Linked DNA regions of Homo sapiens: region 2 is linked to region 1. Evidence: promoter capture Hi-C in human tissues and cell types (Jung and others, 2019). All regions are on one chromosome and are shown on one strand. The core of a region is centred on a gene start or on the middle of the fragment in contact, and the rest is flanking DNA. Distances in the headings are between cores, read along the strand shown. Region 1 holds the start of SLC17A2 (solute carrier family 17 member 2). Region 2 overlaps GMNN (geminin DNA replication inhibitor).

Evidence for each region. Contacts are between HindIII fragments. The study calls those that stand out against the background at their distance.
Region 2: a fragment that was not itself captured here is called in contact with the fragment with the promoter of SLC17A2 in region 1 in 1 of the 25 tissues and cell types used here (adrenal gland).

What each region holds. Positions count from the first base shown.
Region 1 is chr6:25,928,368-25,933,606 of GRCh38, reverse strand. It overlaps SLC17A2 (solute carrier family 17 member 2), which reads left to right and starts at 2,916. Exons shown (of 12, transcript NM_001286123.3): 1 at 2,916-3,330. The HindIII fragment of the contact is 8,808 bases long and covers 1-5,239 here.
Region 2 is chr6:24,785,981-24,791,219 of GRCh38, reverse strand. GMNN (geminin DNA replication inhibitor) reads right to left here. Exons shown (of 7, transcript NM_015895.5): 7 at 5,121-5,239. Among named protein-coding and RNA genes, the nearest start is that of ARMH2, 10 kb to the left of the region's middle. The HindIII fragment of the contact is 3,858 bases long and covers 1,017-4,874 here.

The DNA of each region.
Region 1 (5,239 bases), core at 1,667-4,166:
AACCCATCACCTAGGTATTAAGTACAGCATGCATTAGCTCTTTTACCTAATGTTCTCCCACACCCCCACCCCATCCTCCCCCAACAGGCCCCAGTGAGTGTTGTTCCCCTCCCTGTGTCCACATGTTCTCATTGTTCAGCTCCCACTCATAAGTGAGAACATGAGGTGTTTGGTTTTCTGTTCCTGCCTTAGCTGTTAATGTCAGGCCAGAGAGGCTTAAATTTTTAAGGATCTCTGGACTTTTCTTCTACATTACTCTTGATGTTTATAAATGTTACAACTTCTTTAATTTCATTTAATGTATACCTTATTGAGTTGATTTAACTGAGTTAACTTTGTTATATGAAAATCATGATTGGGAGTGAGGGGGTTAAACCAGCTACAGAGATCTTGATTGTTGGTGGTGAAGCAATGCAAGAATTCATTCATTCAGTAAACTAATGTTTATTAAGCGTGTACTGTCTTAGTCTGTTCAGACTGCTGTAACAAAATATCATAAACTGGGTGACTTATAAACAACAAAAAATTTATTTCTTACAGTTCTGGAGGTGGGAAGTCTAAGATTAAGGCCCTGGCAAATTTAGTGTCTGGTGAGGACAGGTAGCCATCTTTTTGCTGAGTCCTAACATGGCAGAAGGGTTGAATAAACTTCCTTGGGTTTCTTTTATAAGGACACTAATCCTAGTGATGAGGTTTCTGCCCTCATGGTATAACTACTGCCCAAAGACCCCTCCTTCTAATATTATCACTTTGTGGGTTAGGATTTCAACATGAGTTTTGAGAGGATACAGACATTTGGATCATAGCACACACCATAGGACAGACACTGTGCCAAGAATTGTGGATATAGTGATTCTCAAAATGAACAAGATCCCCTCAGAGAGCTTGCAAAATCCAGCTATAAAATTATGCTTTTTAAACAAATTATGCAGTTTGAAAAATCTACTCTGAATCTTACTTGTGGCATTGAATACTTTCGGCCACTCTTTCCTTATTATATTAAATATTTACTCTTGTTTGGGGGATCCAGTCTCACCTACTTTTTCTACCAGAACTGGTATCAGCTCATGCTCTGCCTTATGCAAATTAAGAAAATATCATACCTTTTGGGTAAATTAAGCCAAGAAAGTTCTCCTTTCTTCTCTTTCTCTCTTTCTTTCTTTCTCTCTTTCTCTTTCTTTCTTTCTCTCTCTCTCTTTCTTTCTTTCTTTCTTTCTTTCTTTCTTTCTTTCTTTCTTTTTCTTTCTGACAGGGTCTTGCTCTATTGCCTAGGCTGGAGTGCAGTGGTGCAATCTCAGCTCACTGCAGCCTTGAACTCCAGGGCTCAAGCAATCCTCCTGAGTAGCTGGGACTATAGGCATGTGCCACAACATCAAGCTAATTTTTGCATTTTTTTGTGGAGACGGGATCTCCCTATGTTGCTAAGGCTGGTCTTGGATTCCTGGGCTTATGCGATTCTCCTGCCTCAGCCTCCCAAAGTCCTGGGATTACAGGCATGAGCCACTGCCCCTGGCCATTATAACTATTTTCATTGGCTTATCAGGCACATGATAACTATAATAAATCAATAACCAGAATTTTTAAATAAAGAAAGGAAGGAATTGTTTCAACTCTTCCTGCTACCCCTCTATCCCTCAAAAGGGTAGGCTGAATGTTGTCCTCCAAAGATATCCATGTCCTAATCCCCAGAACCTGTAAATATATTACCTTATATGACAAAAGGGACTTTACATGTTTAATAAGTTAAGAATTTTGAGATGGGCAGATTTTCCTGAATTTTGCAGATGGGCCCTAGTGTAATCACAAGGGTCCTTATAAGAGACAGGCAGAAGAGTCAGAATAAGAGAAAAATACTTCAAGATGTTACACTGCTGGCTTTAAGGTGGAGGAAAGGCCAAGAGCCAAAAAATGCAGTGGTCACTACAAGCTGAAAAGAAAAAGAAATGGATTTTCCCCTAAAGCCTCTGGAGGGGGCACAACCTTGCCAATACCTTGATTTTGGCTCAGTGAAACCCATTTTGGACTTCTGACCTTTAGAATTGTAAATAAATAAATAATTTTGTGTTGTTTCAAGCCATCACAGTTGTGGTAATTTACTACAACAGCAATAAAATAGAATTAAATACAGAGATCTGAGGAGTTGAGTAGGATAAGCCTACTCCAGCAGGTTATTTCGGGAGTATGGTGAGACTCACTAGGATGGCGGAACTCAATTAAGGAAGTCTGAAGCTGATAAGCCAGAGAGGGAAGGCTCTCATTTCATTTTATAAGGGTTGCGTCACACTAGGAAGATCCAATAGCAACCACAGTCTCAAAATTAATGATTACAAATAGGACACAATTCCAAGAGTCGGGAGCCAAGCAGAAAATGGATTAGGGAAGACATGGATGATATGAAACAGGAAGGAGGGGTACAAGGCAGCTTCCTGGGAAGTTGCCAGGGCAGTCACAGTTCACATTCATTAGGCTGTGGGCACCAAATGCATATGGAAAATCTAGCTGACTTAACTGAACTCCTGAAGAGGAATGAACACCTCATTTATTGAGGAGCTACTACCAATTAGAATATGTATTTCATTTGTTCAATAACCCCATGAGTACAGTAACACAATCCTTGCTTTACTAAAGCGGAAGCCAATTCAAAGAGGTTCAGTGACTTGTCCAAGCTCAGGGAAAACACTAGGAAGTGAATATGGGTCTGACTCCATCACTGATTTCAGGAGCCCTGCCCTTTCCTCCACACCATGCCCCCTTGCTTTCAGAAAAAAAGGCTTGTTGACTGAATGGTTGTATGCACAGTTCAAAGCAGAAACACACGATGACATCTTTTGAGATACTCTAACAGTGAGAACTTGAAAATGAAGTTAAAAATTAAGCGGCAAAACCAAGCCGAGGCTTTCTGAGAAAGTGGGGCCAAACCTGTTGCCGTCTGACTGCCACGTGGCTCACTATTTATCCCTGTAAAAATCTGCAAAAGTATTTGAAAGGGAAGAAGGGACAGAAAACTCCCTCCTTTTCCAAGTTAGCCTTATAGTCTAGGGCTTAAAATACTGGTTTAATGGTGAAGGTAAGTGCTTTTCTTCTTTTTGGGTAGAAGGATTATTACTAACTTACCAAAGGTCCATTAAGGGGAGGGAACAGTTTTAGGAGAAGTCAGAGAAAAGACATTAACAGCAACATAAGGATCTCCATCTGGTAATATTGCCTAATTCCAAAATGAAGAGACTCTCTGAAAAAGATAACTGATTCAATGAAGACCCTAGGGCAAGGCTTGAGAAGCCACTGGTACCAATGGACACTGTGGACAATGGTCATTTCTCCAAGGACGCTGTGAGTATTAACTGTGATGCTGTGATTAGTCAGACTGGGATTGGCTGTGGAATGAAATACTGATCAGAACTGACAAGATTTGTGTTTGGGACTGTGGCTAACGAGTCTTTTCAGACTTCTATATGAATTTGAAATGGTCTCTCAGGAAAAGGAGAACATGGCCGGGCCTGGTGGCTCACGCCTGTAATCCCAGCACTTTGGCAGGCTGAGGCGGGCAGATCACTTGAGGTCAGGAGTTTGAGACCAGCCTGGCCAACATGGTGAAACCCTGTCTCCACTAAAAATACAAAAATTAGCAGGGCGTAGCGGCGCGTGCACCTATGCGCATGCATAGTGCGCGTGCCAGCTATTCAGAAGGCTGAGGCAGGAGAATTGCTTGAACCCAGGACGTAGAGGTTGCAGTAGTTGAGATCATACCACTGCACTCCAGCCTAGGTGACAGAGTAAGACTCTGTCTCAAAAAAATAATAATAATAAAAGAAAAGGAGAACATGACCAAAGTTATGAATAAGACTGAAGGCAAGAAAATTGTACGCTTGTAGAGATCACCTAGCTTGTTGCCCTCATTGTACAGCTAAGAAAAGGCACCCAGGGACATTGTGGTCAGCACCAATTTCTCAGAAAGATAGGCAGATGATGAGAGGGCCCTCAGTTTTTCTAACACTGAAGGAATTGCTTCTATGTTTTCTGGTGAACTCCTCCCCACTCATCTTGAGGATTCCAGGCCAGAAGAATCCACTTTAAAAAAGAAACATTTAAAACCAATTTAACAACCAATCAAAGGCACTTTTATAGAAATACATTTCATTTGCTGTAGGCCTGTATTTATGGATCTGAGAGGGCTAGACTGCCAATATTGTGACTGTTTATTATTATTGCTGTTGCTAGTATCTAGAATATTATACAACATATAACACTTTGCAATTTACGAGGCATGTCTCATACTTTTGTTTTCACTCCAAACTGCCCAGTGAAGTAACATTATCCCAATTCTTCCTATGAAACAGTGAAAGCCCTAAGAGTTTTTGAAACTTTACCTGGTTTACTCAATTTGGGAATGGCAGAGCAGAATTCAGTCCTTGAATATCCTCCCACTGCAGGTTCATGCTCTTTGATCTAGGTGTAACATTTACTCTGAGTAAACTAGGACTCTGGGCTAACAGAGATGAAGCAAGACAGGCTGGATATTAGGAGAATCTAAGAGCAATCTAACGACCATTATAATAAAATCATGAGTTCTAGACTTAAAAAAAGGGAAAAACCTGTTTTTTTGCTTATGCGTATACCATAATATTTACATTATTTATTTTTTTCTCAAATTCAACCTATACTGTGTCAAGTAATTTTTTTTAATATAACATTTTCCTTTAACTTAATTTCAATTCATTTTTCTGTGTCTACTTACAACTTTGGCACTAGAATTCACAATTTTTTTTTAGAGGTATATCTCCTTAAAGGGAAGGGTTCTGACACTGTTACATGTTCTCAATTGTTTGCAAATAGGTTAATAATTATTCCAGTGTCTCTAAGTACATATCAACCATGCCAGTGTTCAGCCTCCATAATTTTATTAGCTTCTGTGCTTATTTTGGAAAAACATTTCCCATTACCATGAAAGACCTCAGTTTAGGATGGTTTGGTATGTTAGCCTGATTTCTGCATTCGTCTCATGCAAAGGAAAATAGGAAACGAAGAACTGAAATTACCTATTGATACAAAATCAAAGTAGCATTTGAAACCATAAAACTTAAGTAGGGCTTTTCATCCTTTCTCGTTAGACAGCAACAGAGAATGGGAAGAAAAACTAAAGTGATGGGTTTGTGATACAATTCCAGTAACATAAAGAGCAAGGAGAAGTAGTTTTGTTGTGTTTATGTTTAATATTCAAAGCTCAACCTAAAAGTATTTT
Region 2 (5,239 bases), core at 1,696-4,195, 1.1 Mb after region 1:
GGGTGAACTGTAATTTATACAACCAGTCCTATACTGATGAACATTTAAGTTATTTCCAATATTTTGATAGTTCAAAGTTGTAATGAATAACCTTAAATATGTGTAATTTCACATGTGTGAGCATATCTGTTGAATAAATTTCTAGAAATGGAATTGCTTAGCCATACTTACATCGTTTGCTTTTGTTTTATTCTGTTCCCTGCATTGTGACTTTTGCCTCAACTTCTGTTGACTCTGCTTGGTCAGCACGGGATTATGATGTTTTTTACAGCTTACTGTCATTTTAATAATGTTTGGGAAAGACAGAAATTAAATGGCTCTGTTCAATTAACATGTTTAACCAGAAATTGCTGAAGGCCTCTCTGTGACAATGTTTACAGAAATTTTGGTTAACATTTTATCTACAGAAGATTAGCTTATAAGGTAGTCTAATAATATGTTCTATTCAAATTCCTTTTTGGTCTCTGGAACCTCTTTAAGTTGAAGGAGGTAAGATACAAGGTTCAGATTCGAGCTGAGGCATTTTTACTGTAAACCTTGAATTTTAAGCTGGCTTACCAAAGCTTTAACAACAGTGATTTTGTTTTCCTTTGCTGTCCCTCCTAAGTTCATCTCTCCCAACTTTTGAGTTTTGCTAGAAGCAAATCAGAGGATTTGCTTAAGGATTTGAAAGATATTATTTGGGAGGTGATCTCGGGAACTAGCAATAGGGAAGGGAAGAAAGCCAATAAAAGATGTATTATGAAGAAAGCTGCCACTGTAGGTAAACGGAAGCTTAATCCTGCTGGGGAACCATCTGGTAAACACACAACACACATGCCTTAAGAATTATTTCATCCAGAGGTCCCAAGGAGCTCAGATATGTATACACCAATTCTTATCCTTCTTGGTTGACCTAACAACCTAATTAGTTACAACCTAAAAGTCAACTGAAATATCTTGAAGGGTGTGGGATAGGCAAGGAAGTTTTCTAAACAAACCAAAATTACGAGGGCCGTAAGGCAGTGTGGTGGACGTTTGTTGCGTTTTGGCTCACTAGAATTTATTCTTTCTTCTAATAACACGTCAGTTTATTTGGGGGAGATATCTTACCCATGGTGTAGTCTTAAAATTCATTTCTATCTGCTCTTGGATTAGCTTTTCTCTTCCCTTCCTATAATTATCCTTTATTTGGTCTCATTGCATCCACCTCCAAAAGAATTGGAAATAATTGTGGTCCATCCTTTTCTAGCTCTTGACCTTGAAACTAATTCCAAAGCTTCACCATTAAGCATTATGTTAAGCATGGGTAGCATAGTTTATTTCAGGTTAAAATTCTTTTCTTTTCCTAGCTTACCAAGGGTTTTTACCAGAAAGGGTGTTGAATTTTATCAATGCTATTTTACCATCTATTAAGATGATATGCTTTTTCCCCTTTAATATAAAGAACTTCATGTTTACTAATATTATAGCAGTCTTGCATTCCTGAGATAAACCCTAACTTGGTCATCGTTTTATCTTTTAGTAGATTAGACTTGCCATTTTATTTATGATTTTTCAATCTGTATTAATAAGGCTCTAGATTCCCCTACTCCAACCTTACGGTCCATCCTCATTACCTTCTTTTTTTTTTTTTTTTTTTTTTTTTTGAGATGAGGTTTCGCTCGTTGCCCAGGCTGGAGTGCAAAGACGCGACCTTGGCTCACTGCATCCTCTACCTCCTGGGTTCAAGCAATTCTCCTGCCTCAGCTTCCCAAATAGCTGGGACTACAGGCATGCACCATCACGCCTGGCTAATTTTGTATTTTTAGTAGACAGGTTTTCACCATGTTTGTCAGGCTGGTCCTGAATTCCTGACCTCAGGTGATCTGCCCACCTGGGCCTCCCAAAGTGCTGGGATTACAGGCATAAGCCACCACACCTGGCTGGTCCATCCTCAAATCTTGATATCAGTTATGCTAGCCTTGTAAAATATATTGACAAATTAGTTCAGTCTAATCCAGGCTTCATGCATACTGTTTTTCCAACTGATTCTTATCCATTTGCCATTTCCTTAACGAAGCTCGACTGCATTTTATTAAACCAACTTCAAAGAACTTGTTCTAATGGGCCAGGCTTGATTGACTCCCTGACCCCTTCTCCAAGGTATTTTCATTGACATGTTTTTTGTTTTGTTGAGACAGAGCCTCACTCTGTTGCCGAGGCTGGAGTGCAGTGGCGCAATCTATGCTCACTGCAACTTCTGCCTCCCAGATTCAAGCAATTCTTGTGTGCCTCAGCCTCCCGAAGAGCTGTGACTACAGGTGTGCACCACCACGCCCAACTAATCTTTTGTATTTTTAGTAGACAAAGCATTTTGCCATGTTAGCCAGGCTGATGTTGAACTCCTGTCCTCAAGTGATCTGCCTGCCTCAGCCTCCCAAAGTGTAGGGATTACAGGCGTAGCCATCACACCCGGCTGACATGCTATACTAACATTTGATACCTAATTAAAAATCAGACTCATCTTCCACAGGAAATTCCTACAAATTCTCCATCACTAGGGTCAGTTCCCAGGGACTAGAAGCTTAAAATATGTCCCCCAAAACAGCCCCTACATGACCCTTAGGCAACTACTAATCTGCTTTCTCATTATACTTTGTAGTTTTGTGATTTTAAATAAATAGAAGCATACAGTATGTATTTACCTGGCTTCTTTCACACAACATTGAGATTCGTCCATGTGGCGTGTACCAATTTTTGTCCCCTTTTTATTGCTAAATAGTATTCCACTGTATAGTTATACCATAATTTATCCACTCAGTTACCAATGGATATTTGGGCTATTACAAATAAAGCTATGAAAATGTGTGAACTAGTCTTCATGTGGACATATGCTTTCGTTTCTCTTGGGTAAATACCCAGGGGTGGAATGGCTGAGTCATATAAAATGTGTATGTATAACTTTTAAGGAATTGTTCAACTTTTCCACAGCAGTTGTAGCATTTAGCACTGCCACCACCACTGCAGGAGGGTTTCAGATGTTTCACATCCTTAACACTCGATGGAGTTGTTTTTATTTTTCAAACTTAAAACAATTCTGAAAGGTATGTAGCAGTATCTGGTTGTCATTTAATTTGCACTTCCTTAATGACTAATGTTGAGCATCTTTTCATGCACTTAGTTTCCATCTCATACATACCCTAGTTCTTTATAGATACAAATCCTTTGTTGGCTATGTTCTGCAAATATGTTCCCCCAGTCTGTTCTTGCCTTTTCATTTGCTTGTCTTTCAAAAAGTTTTTAAAATTTACAACGTTTAATTTGAAGTTGATGCTTTTTTGTGTCCTATTTGAGAACTCTCTGCCAAACCCAAAGTCACTAAGAACTTTTCTATATAATCTAGAAGTTTTATGGTTTTAGCTACTACCTTAGTTTTTTAATCCCCTTCAATTCCCTCTCCTTTTGCTCCCCACCATCAAATTCTGGCATTTTACAAAAATACTTTCTATTTGTCAAGTCCCTATTCTACTTACCTATTTTCTTTCTTAACCATGCTAAAGGCCTCTCAACTGAGTCTCCTCATGCTCTAATCCAGAATATTCTTCAATTCCTTTAAAATTAATTTACCTATTAATCCTATCTTTAGGCTAGTGATCCACACCTGAAACACACAGAGCCACACTAACGTAATTGCCACTAGCTTCTTGTAGTGACTTAAATTAAAATGTCCATACCTCATTCACACTAGCCACACTTCAAGTGCTAAACAGCCACACAGAAATGGCTACCATACTGTACAGCAGATATTCTCATCATCCCAATAAGTTCTACTGGACAATGTTGTTATAGATTAATAATAGCTTCCATTTTTAAGACACTTAGCCTAGACACTAAAGGTTTTAATCTTCACGATAACACTATGAGGTAGGCTTTATCTCAGTATTAAAGAAAATTAAGGCCAGGCACGGTGGCTCACGCCTGTAATCCCAACACTCTGGAGGCCGAAGCAGGCGGATCGCTTGATGCCAGGAATTCAAGACCAGCCTGGGCAACATGGCGAAACCCCGTCTATATAAAAAATTAGCCAGGTGTGGTGGCACGCACCTGTAGTCTCAGCTACTTGGGAGGCTGAAGTGGGAAGATGACTTGCGCCCATCAGGTGGAGGCTGAAGTGAGCTGAGATTGCACCCCTGCACTCCCGCCTGGGTGACAGAGAGAGAAAATTAAGGTTCTATAAGGATGCTTACCTAAAACAATCCTTTCAAAAGCTTGAGGCCAGGCGTGGTGCCTCACACCTGTCATCCCAGCACTTTGGGAGGCTGAGGTGGGCGGATCACTTGGGGTCAGGAGTTCGAGACCAGCCTGGCCAACATGGTGAAACCCCGGCTCTACTAAAAATACAAAAACTAGCCAGGTGTGGTGGCAGGCACCTGTAATCGCAGCTACTCAGGAGGCTGAGGCAGAATCACTTGAACCAGGGAGGCAGAGGTTGCAGTGAGCCAAGATCATGCCATTGCACTCCAGCCTGGGCAACAAGAGCAAGACTCCGTCTCAAAGGAAAAAAAATAAAAGCATGACATTGCTCTTTATTGCCAATTTATACAAAACTACTTGTATGCCTCTCACAGAACTTTTTCAGTTCCAATGCTACATACCCCTAGTTTGTACTTTTCCTCCTTCAAAACTTAGTATATATGGGAAATCCCTAATGAATCTGACCCTACTCTTATTCTTCAATATTTACATACTTTGCACTATACCAATATGTGAAATAGAAAAGCTCCATAATTTTCAGCTATTCCTGATTTTTTCCGTCAAACTTCTACCCACTCCTCACTTTGTTTCTTGAGGATTATCACCATCATCCATCATTTTAAGCTTCCAAGAAGAGTCTGATCCTGCTAGCCAGTTGGGCCTCTCACTGTCTAATCAGATTCACTTGAAAAGCTTTTGGAAAATAGATTCTCATGCTCCATTCCAAAAACAACTTGTTAATATCAATAGTGTCTACAATGAGCTTGAGGTACAACAAAGTTTGGGAGTTAAAAACCTCAGCTATCTCAGTCTAAATACTTTAAGTTCGTTTTCTCCTTGTCTCCTCCAAGGTAGTTAGCAAAAGAATGGAAAGAGAACAACATAAAAGCATAGAAACAGACAAATTTTCTACACATACTCCTTATATTTCATTATTCTAAGTTATACACAATGTTCAACAGGAGTTTGAAGTTTATTTAGTAATAAACATAAGTCATGGCTGACAACTGAGAAAATCCTATTC